Regions from separate parts of the Homo sapiens genome. Here all the other regions are linked to region 2. Evidence: promoter capture Hi-C in 16 types of primary human blood cells and fetal thymus (Javierre and others, 2016). All regions are on one chromosome and are shown on one strand. The core of a region is centred on a gene start or on the middle of the fragment in contact, and the rest is flanking DNA. Distances in the headings are between cores, read along the strand shown. Region 1 overlaps STIM2 (stromal interaction molecule 2). Region 2 holds the start of SEL1L3 (SEL1L family member 3). Region 3 overlaps STIM2 (stromal interaction molecule 2).

What was found. Contacts are between HindIII fragments. The CHiCAGO score rates a contact against its expected background, and 5 or more counts as called.
Region 1: a fragment that was not itself captured here is called in contact with the fragment with the promoter of SEL1L3 in region 2 in 4 of 17 cell types (activated CD4 T cells, naive CD8 T cells, erythroblasts and 1 more); the score reaches 7.5 in activated CD4 T cells.
Region 3: a fragment that was not itself captured here is called in contact with the fragment with the promoter of SEL1L3 in region 2 in 1 of 17 cell types (total B cells); the score reaches 5.0 in total B cells.

The regions. Positions count from the first base shown.
Region 1 is chr4:26,865,666-26,869,080 of GRCh38, forward strand. All of the region lies in intron 1 of STIM2 (stromal interaction molecule 2), which reads left to right. Among named protein-coding and RNA genes, the nearest start is that of STIM2, 6.5 kb to the left of the region's middle. The HindIII fragment of the contact is 1,158 bases long and covers 673-1,830 here.
Region 2 is chr4:25,861,299-25,864,871 of GRCh38, forward strand. It overlaps SEL1L3 (SEL1L family member 3), which reads right to left and starts at 1,690. Exons shown (of 24, transcript NM_015187.5): 1 at 1,377-1,690. The coding sequence starts at 1,538. It overlaps LOC102723733 (a long non-coding RNA gene), which reads left to right. Exons shown (of 2, transcript XR_427503.5): 1 at 1-855. RefSeq lists silencers at 689-983, 1,254-1,713, 1,764-1,923. The HindIII fragment of the contact is 3,672 bases long and covers 1-2,862 here.
Region 3 is chr4:26,884,453-26,888,137 of GRCh38, forward strand. The region is part of intron 1 of STIM2 (stromal interaction molecule 2); the gene reads left to right. Among named protein-coding and RNA genes, the nearest start is that of STIM2, 25 kb to the left of the region's middle. The HindIII fragment of the contact is 996 bases long and covers 753-1,748 here.

The DNA of each region.
Region 1 (3,415 bases), core at 2-2,501, 1.0 Mb after region 2:
CTAATAATATGGATAATAAGCCATTTTTTGACATTTACTGGAGTTTGGACTTCACCTTGTTAAGATCTACCTAGGAATTTACTTCTGAATTGATCAGATTTTATTAACTAAATAATTATTAAGTACAAGCAGCATAACACAAAAGAGAAGTGGGAAAGAATTAAAAAAAAGAATAAGATGTAGGTGTGACCATTTTGGACTCAGACTAGGTAATAATAGGCACATTTATTAAACTGTTCCTATGTGTTAGTATTGTGCTAAGTGCTTTTTATATTATACATCACTGTTTTTGATTCTGAGACTAATCCTGTTAGATAGCTACTGTTTTTTTTTTTCCTTCTAACTTTTATTTTAGATTCATTTTAGATTCCAACTTTTATTTTAGATTCATATGCAGGTTCATTGCCTGGGTTTATTGCATGATATTGAGATTTTAGTTACCAACGATCTTGTCACCCAGGTACTGAGCATAGTACTCAATAGTTCAATAGTTTTTCAACCCTTACCCCTCCTCTTACCTCCCCCACAAGTAGTCCTCAGTTTTCTATTGTTGCTGTCTTTATCTTCATATAGTAGATTAGGAAACATGCTGGATGATCTTAAGTAACTTGCCCAAGCTCACTTCTAGTAGGTAGCAGAGTTAGAGGTTGACCAGGGTTTCTCTGGTTCCAAAGCTTGGATTCTTAGCTGGTATGTTGTATGCATCCTTATACAAACAACATGCGATGGATTGTGATTAGCACCACAAGGGACTGCAAAGTGTAGGAGAAAGGAAGAGGCTGTTAGAGAGTATTACCTGGAGGAGGGCAGGATTTGAGCTGGACCTTGATGTATAGGTAGGACTTCTTGTGGAGATAAGTGAAAAGGCTTTCTGGGAGGAGGCATATGCAAGAATAGGGGATAAATACTTTTCTTTAGAGTTAAGTATAAGGTATATGTAGAGTAGTGGGGAATGCAAGAAGGAAGAAGATTGGGGCCAAATTATCAAGAGCTTTACAGTCCCCTAGTGTATTCAGTATGTATCAAAATGTCAGCACATTTAAAACTGGGGTACTCGGCTGTATACTGGCAAGAATGAGACATCCAGGACAAATATGGTACCTTTTCTTGGCATATCCATTTTATTAGATTATTTGAGAGATATAAAACTATTTGAAGGTTTCTAAATATGCACGTTAGGGAAAATGTACATATATTTTAATTTTTAAGGTAAAAGGCATTTTGAACTTTCAGAGTGTTTTGTTAATAAACTCTTGAAGTTGCAAATCTATATCCTGTCATTAGGAGGTGAGAGGCATTGTGGTTTTTGAAGATGGGGGTGACATGTCCTTTGTGTTTGAGAAAGCTAATTCTGGGTGGATGGCAATGAGGAGATAACAGAGATAAGGATATCAGTTAGGAAACTATTTAGAAGGAGAGGTCTTGAGAATTCTAATTATGGAGTGGCTATGAAAATGTTTAGATGAAATTTTATAAAATCGACTTTATTCTTAGCTTAGGAATCTGGCTATTTATATGAAGTTTAAGATATAAAAATTACCTTTAGCATTAAGCATACAGAATTTATAGAATGATTTAAATTAGTATAAGCCCTTGAAAAATCCAAGAAGAAACACACTATTTGTGATAGAGAATCTTCTTTATTTCAAATGTGCCTATTTCTTAATATAAAGATTAGTTTTTAAAAAAATATAATCGGGCTTATGTGATGATTTACAAAGTTGTCGACAGAAAAACAGTTGCAAATGTATTTGCCAGTTGTTTGACAAATAAAACCAAACAACTTTTGATATCCAAAGACAATATATTTGCCATAAAATGCTTATATAAAGCTTTTAGAATTCCATGTATAAAAAGGATAAGTGTTTCCAGATTAAACTAAAGTTATAAGTCAAGAGTCGAAGTCTCTCCGACCCCTTAGCTATGAATAACAATATTTCAGACTACTGGCATATTACTTGTTTCAATATTAACTCCTAAATTTCATTGTTGTGTGAATTTCAAGCTTAATCTATAGATGATGATTTCTAATGCCAAATCTAAAAGGTTTGTTCTGTTCTTTAGCTATCTAGATCTTTATATTAGTATACATTGGATATTCAGTCTTTCTTGACACTGTCTAATTCTACCTTCTGTAACTGTTTTCCTTGACTGGTTTCATTGTTGCTGATTTTAAGGGTGGTTCCCTCTTAAGTCTCTGTTCTCAGCCTCCTCTTCCTCTAGTCTAGCTGAACATTTCCTCCTCAGAGAACTTCATTACTAGGAAAGTTCTAAATTGGGGGTAGGGAACCCCAGGCCAATGATTGATTTGATTTTTGGCTTTATTTCCTTTGGCCCTTGGTGTGCTATAGCACAAGCATCATGGCTGCAGTCCCGAGAGTAATTTCCTTTCTACTAGGCTTTGTCAGCCATATCCTTTAAAGTGAAACAATTTCAGGATTAAGGCTAGGAGCAGTTGCAGAATGTTTAATAATGTCTATTCAGTGTTTTCATAAGATAGTGGTAACTCCCCTCCAGTACACACAGGCTGATTGGAGCCACAGAGCCTGGCAAGCGCAGTTTACTTGGACTAACATTCATCTCAGAGCCCAAGTACCTGTATCTGTCCAAGTGTTTCTTTTTGCGTATGGATTTGTTTTTTTGTGTGCTTATGGATCTTGACCTCTGTGTAACTTTTTTCTCTAGTCATTTTCATTTTCTCTACCTCTTTTTGATCTTCCTAAACTTGACATTATATGGAACTGAAACACCTCAAAAACTGTTTTGTTTAATTAAGTGCTGGGATTTTAATTTAAAAAATGCTTGAAATGAATATCTCATTTATGTGATTACAGAATACTAAACAGCCTTATCATAAGCAGCCTCATCAAAACCCCCTAGGGTAGTGAAAGTGATTTGTAGTTTCTTACAATATTCTCAATAAGTAAAAAGGCTTTTTAAACCCTTGTTTGAAGTTTTTGTCTCCTACTCAGCACACTGCAAGTTGCACAGGCCCATGTTTTCTATTACTGTCTTTTTTTTCTTTTTTAAAAAATCTGATGTTGGATAACTAGATAATCTTAATCCCCCTTCTTTATTCCTATTGTCCAGCAATACATCTCTAACGTTTTCATTAATGACGTGTATGTAATTTTTGCTCTGTTTCCCTGATGCCTTGAACCATTGTCATGTTTAGCTCTTATTTCTGCTTTGCCACACATATTCAGACTGTATTAATCCTCGCCGTTTCTTTCTTCTGGGTACCACATTAAGAAAGAAAAGCTAAAGTGCAATTATAGGTACCCCTGGCTATTTTTGAATTTGCATTTGTAACTATACCCTCTGATGTTTATTCCGTGTTTGTTTGGGGTCGTACGCTGTAGCTTATGCCTGTAATCCCAGCACTTTTCGAGGCCAAGATGGGCAGATCACTTGA
Region 2 (3,573 bases), core at 440-2,939:
TAACTGACAACTTCTTATGAAAATATGAAGTAAGCCCAACCACACAATTTGATATTGGCTAATTCTGAAATATGAGTAAAAGCACGGATTGCTCAACAGGTAGATGCACAGGCAGAATTATAATTTGCATTTTTACACCTTCTTGCTTCAAGAAATGAAACATTCAAGAAGTAAAAAACGTTAAAAGAAACGGGCTGAGTGGCAAATTTCTTCAGAATCAAATTCTAATTTCTGCCAGTATCTCCTAAGCAGTTTTTAGCTTCCAAAAAGAAAGACTCCAAATAATGACAATGCCACATAAGTGAAATGAATTCTGGACAATGACACTGCTCTTTTTTTTTTTTTTTTTGGCATTCTGTGAATTTCCTATTACATCAGTTTCATGATTCAGCATTTTCCATTTCATTTATTTACAGTAATATATGGCGAGATAACCCAAGGTTTCTGCAGGATTGTGGAACATAAGTTACTCTGGGCAGGAAGGGTGTCGCCTTCTGTAAATTTACTATTGTTTAGGAGAACTCAAAACAGAAGCAAGCAAGCCCTCAAAGGAACTGAGAAAATTTCTCCCCACTTTGTTCTGAGGGGTCTCAGCTACTCTGGTATTTAAAATAAATGGGTTTTGAAAAATAGGTTACTGCCCTTTAGTTGATGACTAAAACAGAAGCCAAGAAGTGTGCAAATTGCAAACTGACATGCATGAGCCAAACATATTCTCTGAAATGACAATGTTCAAGACGCAGCTAAAGTCACCACTCTGGCGGTAAGCGTGTTACAGAGAACTAGATTTCTTTCCGGCATCCGCAACTTGGCTGGAGTGACCAAGGAGGAGTTGAAGAGCGCTGGAGATGCGAGGTGCGTTGGCAGAAAACTGTCCGGGCCGGGAGGACCCGGTGGAAACTAAAAGGAGGGTCGACGCGGGTGGCGGGCGCCGAGAGTAAGAGGCGAAGTTGGGCACGGGAAGGAAAGGAGCTGCGAGAAGATTGAGAGGGAAGCCCAGGAGGGGTGGGGGGTTGGGGGGTGCTGGAGACTGCGCGCGGCGGGGCGGGGAGCGAACTCCGGGCGGCGAGGCTCCCGGGTGGAGTCGAGGACAAGAAGGGGTCTCGAGGGTAACCCGACCCGGGTCTAGAGAGAGTCCAGGAGGGAAAGGAATGAGCACGAGCGAGAGAGCAGCTTGGCAAGTCCGGTCCAAGCGCCCCTCTCCACGCCCGGGGTACCTATCCCAGGTGCCGGGAACGCCCGGGGCGCAGCGACGAGGAAGAGAGAAAACTAGCAGCGGCGTCCCCGCCCCGCGTGGCGGGTGTCCCCGGCCGCCCCCACCCGCGTCCCCGGGGCCCCGCGCGGAGGGGAAGACCCGGGCAGGGTCCGGCGCTCACCAGGTAGCAGAGCAGGAGCAGCGCGCAGGCAGAGCGGCCGCCGAGGCCCTGGGGGACGCCGCCACTCGGGACCATGGCTGCGGCCCGGGGGCCGACCGCGAGCGGCGGGGGTTGCTGCTGCTGCTGCCGCGGCCACCCGAGCCCCGCGCCGCGCCGCTGCATGGCGAGGCCGCCCGGATCCGGGCCGGAACAGGTCACCTGGTGCAGGGACCGGCCCCCGCCCGAGGCGCCACCTTCCCGCCCGCCCCCGGCCGGGCCGGCCGCCGCGCGCGGGGCCACCTGCCGCCACCTCCGGACCCGCCGCCGCCGCCACTGCCGCTCCCGCCGTCGCCGCCCCCGCAGCCCCAGCCGAGCGCCGGCTCCTCCCCGCCTCCCCGTCCCCGTCCCCTCCCTCCCCTCTGCCTCCCTGCCCAGCCCTCCTCCCGGCCGCTCCCTCTGGCCCCCGGGCTTCCACCCCTCGGAGCAGCGGGCGCCCACGCAGGTGGGCACCGACCCGGGTCCCGCCCCTTGGCCGCCGCCACCCCCCGCCCGGGTCGCTGGGCCCCGGCGCACCCCCCTTTCCCTTTCTCTCTGCTCCTCCCCCGCCCCCCTTCCGCGCTCCTGCTCTCTGCGATCCCCCTCCTCTCCCTCCGGCTCCCTCTTCCTTCTCCCCTCGCGCTCCCAAACCCCCTCTCTTTTTCACTTTCTCCTTTTCCTCCCTTTCCTCTTTCTCCCTTCCCATCCTCTTCCTCGCTTCCGCATTCTTCCTCTCCCACCCACCCCTTTTGCGGGTCGCACAGACCAGTTCCCGCCCGTGCAATGGGTTTTTGTCTGGTTGCTTTTTTGGCCGGGGCGCCATTCCCGCAGGGCGCAGGGCGAGTGTGCCCCCTGGAGTTGTGCCGCGCAGCTGCCCGGCTCCCAGGCCTTCAGGATGGATTTTGACCCCTGCCAACCTCCACCTGTCCACCTGCGGGGTTGGGACTGCCTCCTTGCTGGCATGTTTGCAGCCGGGCTGCGCCCCACCCTGCCGGCTGGTTCGCGGCACGTTCTGGATGTTTCCCGAGGGTTTTGTGTGGTGCCGCCGCCACCGCCACCACTGCGCTCTTTGTTTTAATTGTCCAGAGTATTGGCACCCAGGACGGGTTTGTATTTGATTTGCATCCCTGTGCTCCGGCTTCCACTTTGGACTGAGAAAAAAATGAATTAATTAGGTCAATACAGTAATACTGGAGCCCCAAATGAAAGGGGTGAGGCCCTGGAAGTGCGCAAACAGCTTTTTAAAAAACCAGGACACATCCTCGGCCTTGGGGACGCAGGTTGAGACTGGCTGCTCTCCGACCCGGGTTCTGCGGCCTGGCGGGGAGGGGCCTCCGGCCGGCGGGACCACCAGCTCGCCGCCGGCCTTGGCTTTCAGGGAAGCGCTTGGCTGTGTCTAGCGGCTCCGACAACTATCTGGGCCCGCAGCTGCTGCTCTGAAACAGTTAATCCACCTTCCAAAGTTCGCAGAAGCTTCCCTTTAGCACTGGTAGATTTGTGCGGATTGGAACTAATAATAGCCTGGGAGCCTGAGAGGCCACAGCCCTTTCCCTGTGCCACGAGCATAGGTCAAGTCACAACAGACGTCGGGGAGAGGCTGGTGGTGAGACGGGGTGCCCGGGATGGTTTGACGGGCGTGGACGCGCCCTCAGCTGCTTCAGTACAGGCCTGGCCACACCAGGCATGGTGGCTCCTCAGCTGTCGTCCACTTTTTTTTAGGTCACCTAAGAGCTGTGGCCTTGTGTGAGTTCCCTGGCCTTATTCCACCGGTTCTCAAACTTCAGAATTACCTGGAGGGATTGTTAAAACACAGATTCCTGGACTTCAGCCCTAGAATTTCTGACTCAGTTGGTCCTGGGAGGGACTTGAGAATGTACCTTTCTAACAAGCTCCTGGGTGATGTTAACGCGCTGGTTCAAACAGCCCTCCTCCATTTCCAGAACTATTGGCTTTTAGGGAACTGGGCTCCTGCTCCTCCCAGCCAGCTGCCACCACATTAAAGCATTTTGGGGGTTTTGACAGATGCTCCCACTATCTCTGTTCCACTTCTGCAGAAACAAAGCACTTAACATTCTTCTGTGTGACGTGGAAAACATTTATTCTATCGAGTGTCCAAGGGAACAAAAGATTTGGTGGCTTTGTCCCAGATCCTGTCTATATCTTTTCCATCAGGTCAAAATAC
Region 3 (3,685 bases), core at 1-2,500, 1.0 Mb after region 2:
ATTTAATTCTTAAACCTGTTTGTAATAAAGGTTTAGAAAAGAACCAGAATAGGGCTGGAGTGTGACTTACTGCTTCTACTGCAACTGCTTTAGGAAATTTAAATATAAAGAAAACTAACAGGAAATTGTGTCGTTGTATAGGCAGGGTAATGTACAAGCTATTTTAAGAAGGGGCTCTTTGCATTTCAGTGTTCATCTGTCAGTTGGCTGTAGTAGAAACACCCTGTTTATTTAGCACCATTGGGGGATTAAGTATCCCACATGAGTGAACAGCCATTTATTGAGTACTTACGTATATCAGGCAACTGTTCTGAATGCTTCACATGAAATAACTCATTTAGTCCTCACAAGCTTATGGGGTAGATCCGTATCTTATAGGTAATGTAACGGAGACCCAGAGAGGTTAAACACGAGTTCACAGAACTGGCAAGTGGGTGAGACAGAATTCTCACAACAAGATTCACATCCTTAACCAGTACTCTTGCCTCTTGAGTAATTGAACCTTGACTCCTTTGAATTATAAAACTTGCTTTATTTCAAACATTTTGGAGTCAAATTATTTCTAAAACGTGTGACTTATTTCTCTACTTTCTTAATCAGAATGTATTGGGTACAGTTAATGGGTACAATATTAGGGTTAGTACACATGCAAAAACACAGATACTCTTAAGGATTGTTGATTTGTGTTCCACTGTTCATGTTCAACCTTATTTTTCATGGTTTTGAATTGCTGTAATATCTAGTTTTCCAAAAGCTTTTTACTTAAATACAGTATAACAGTACAGGAAAGGGCTCAAATCATCAGTATACAGCTCATTTCAACCATTTTTAACAAAGTGAATACTCACATGTTATTAGCACCCAGATCGAGAAACATAATGTTGCCTTTACCCAGAAGTCCTTCATGTCCTCTTGAAATCAGTATGTGCCTTTGCCTAAGGTTAACCACTGTCCTTACTTTAATACCATAGATTTGCTTCCCTATTTTTGAATGTGAATAAATGGAGTCATCAGCATATGATTGTATCAGCTTATTTACTGGACAGCTGTCATTTTATTTTTTGGTATCTGCTAAGACTGGAAAATAGGGGTATCAAGGCTTGAATTGTAAATCTTGATGGTATGAAGGATCCTCCTTTAACTAAAGCATGTAGGATTTTAATGTGTGATATTTGTGACATAGTTTTCATTTCTGACTATTTTTTCAGGTTTATGTTTTGCCTGGGTGAATTCAGAATGTAACTTTCAGATATACAAATTGTTTACCTTGGTTACCAGGCTATGTAGTTTATAAGAGCAGTAAAACTGAAAATATAGCATTCAGTGCTAGTTGTATTATGAGAATGAAGCCAAATTTAGCACCTCAGGTTATATATATATATATATATATATATATATATATATATATATATATATATATATGTATATGTCTATTCATGTAAATATGCAGTGTTGATTTATCCTAATTACTGAGACATTCCATTATGGCTTATTGAAAATTACATATAAACCTTATTTTAAATCTGATTTTTAGATACTTGAGTTTTAAGAAGCTGATCACCATGCGCCAGTTCCTCTTATTTGACAAACAAGGAAGTTGTGGCTATGTGAGCTCATAATTTGAGGTTCAGTGGAACAGAGGAGAACTGTGACGGGCAGAACATTTACTTTCATATTCTCTGTAAAACCAAATCAGTGAGAAGGATGCAAGGAGAACTAGGACAGTATATGAACTTTTTCCTTCTTAAAGCTTTTTCTGTGTAGGAGCATATTCATATAACTGAGAAGATTGTTTGAAATTTTAGCTTAAGGCTAATATATTATTTCAATATATACTCATTGAACACTTACAGATATTGTTGTAGGTATTGGAGCAATGAAGAAAACGATGAGCTTAATTTCACTGAGGATAAGACAGTTAACAAGTAGACAAATATTTATCAGGAGATGATAAATGCAATGAAGGAAAATAAAATAGGTGAGAAGGTAGAGAATGTTAGGGAAAGTATATGTGTGTTTGCTGTTATTTAAGGTGGTCAGGGAAATCTTCATAGTTGACATTTGACAAGAGAGAAGGGAGAGACAGAGGGATGAGACCCTTCAGGTGGAGAGAATGGCATGTGCATGGGCCCTGATGGATACCATTGTTGGATTTTTGGAGAAACTTCCAGGAGACCACAGGGCTGGTGTAGAGTAAGCAATGGAGAGAGTAATAGATAGATCAGAGAGGTTGTCTGGGCTAGAATGTACAGTCTTGTAGACATCATCTACAAGATGTGAGGACATTGTCATTGTATGTCATGTACTCTGAGATGGGGAGCTACTGCAGGGTTTTTGAGAAGTGTGACATGATTTGATTTATGTTTGGAAATGATCACTTCAGCTCTTTCACTGAAATGACACTCTAGAAGGTCTAGTCTTAGAGCAGGGAGACCAATTAGTAGGCTTTTGTCCGGGGAGAGAAAGTGCTAGAGCTCCCTTGTTAGCTATGGAGGTGGTAATAGGTGGTATAGGTGGAGCTATATGTGGATGCTAAATACAGTGAAAGCCCTTCTGTTCTGTTGTCCTGAAAATCAAGTTCATTGTTATATGAACTTTATTGTGAAGTAAAGACATAAAAGCTTATGCCTTTATAGGATATAATTTAAAGAGCTAGGAAATTGGAACAACCCGTAGTGTTCAACTGCTGAATGTTACAAGATACAATAAGCACCAAACCAAATAATTAAACTTTTTTTTTTTTTTTTTTTTTTTTGCCTCTTGCCTTGTCCGTGATCCCTTTAAAACTTAGAATTTATTTGAGCTTTTTTTCTTTACTGTTTTGTTTGATGTTGCTTTCATTTTCTACTTGGGTTAAGATGTATCTTGCTAATAATCTAAGATCACACCGTGCTGTTACAGAATTACAGACTTTGATTGAACTCAAGGAAGTGGACAAAGCCTAAAGCTCAAACTGTCTGCTAATTACAGGAACTTCTCCGGTGTATCCCTTATAGACTGTCATTCATTAGCTCCTCAGATACTTTGGGTGGTTGGGAACTTATTGCTCCTGAACAACTTTTCCATTAGTAGGCAGTTCTGGTTTGTGAGAAGTTCTTTGTTGCATTAAACTAAAATCTTTCAGTACTTTCTTTGGGTTCTAGATGTATCCTTTGAAGCAAAGAGTGGCTATTTTTTCTCTTAATGTTTTAAAAGACCCTGTATTAGGGTTCTGTACAGAAATAGAACCAGAAGGAATGAATGTATATGTTCATTATTACAAATTAATAATATAATTTTATATAGTGCATATCTGTAATTATATTACCAATTATTTAGTTGCACTTAAAATACTCAAAGATGTAACTTAAAATAATTAATTGTTTTATACATGTATCTACATATCTACATAGATAGACATAGGTAAAACATAGAGACTTATTTCAAGGAATTGGCTGAGGTAATTGAAAAGATCCAAATCCAAATCCAAAATCCATAGGATAGGCTGGCAGATTGGAAACTCTTGGGCAGGCGATGATGCTGCAGTCGTGGGGCAGAATATTTCTTTCTCAGAAAAGGCTTTCCTGCTGATTGGATCAGGCCCACCCACATTTCCAAGAATAATTTCCTTTGCTTAAAGTCAACTGATTGTAGATGTTAACTGTGTTTACAAAATACCATCACAGTAGCACCCAGGTTAGTGTTT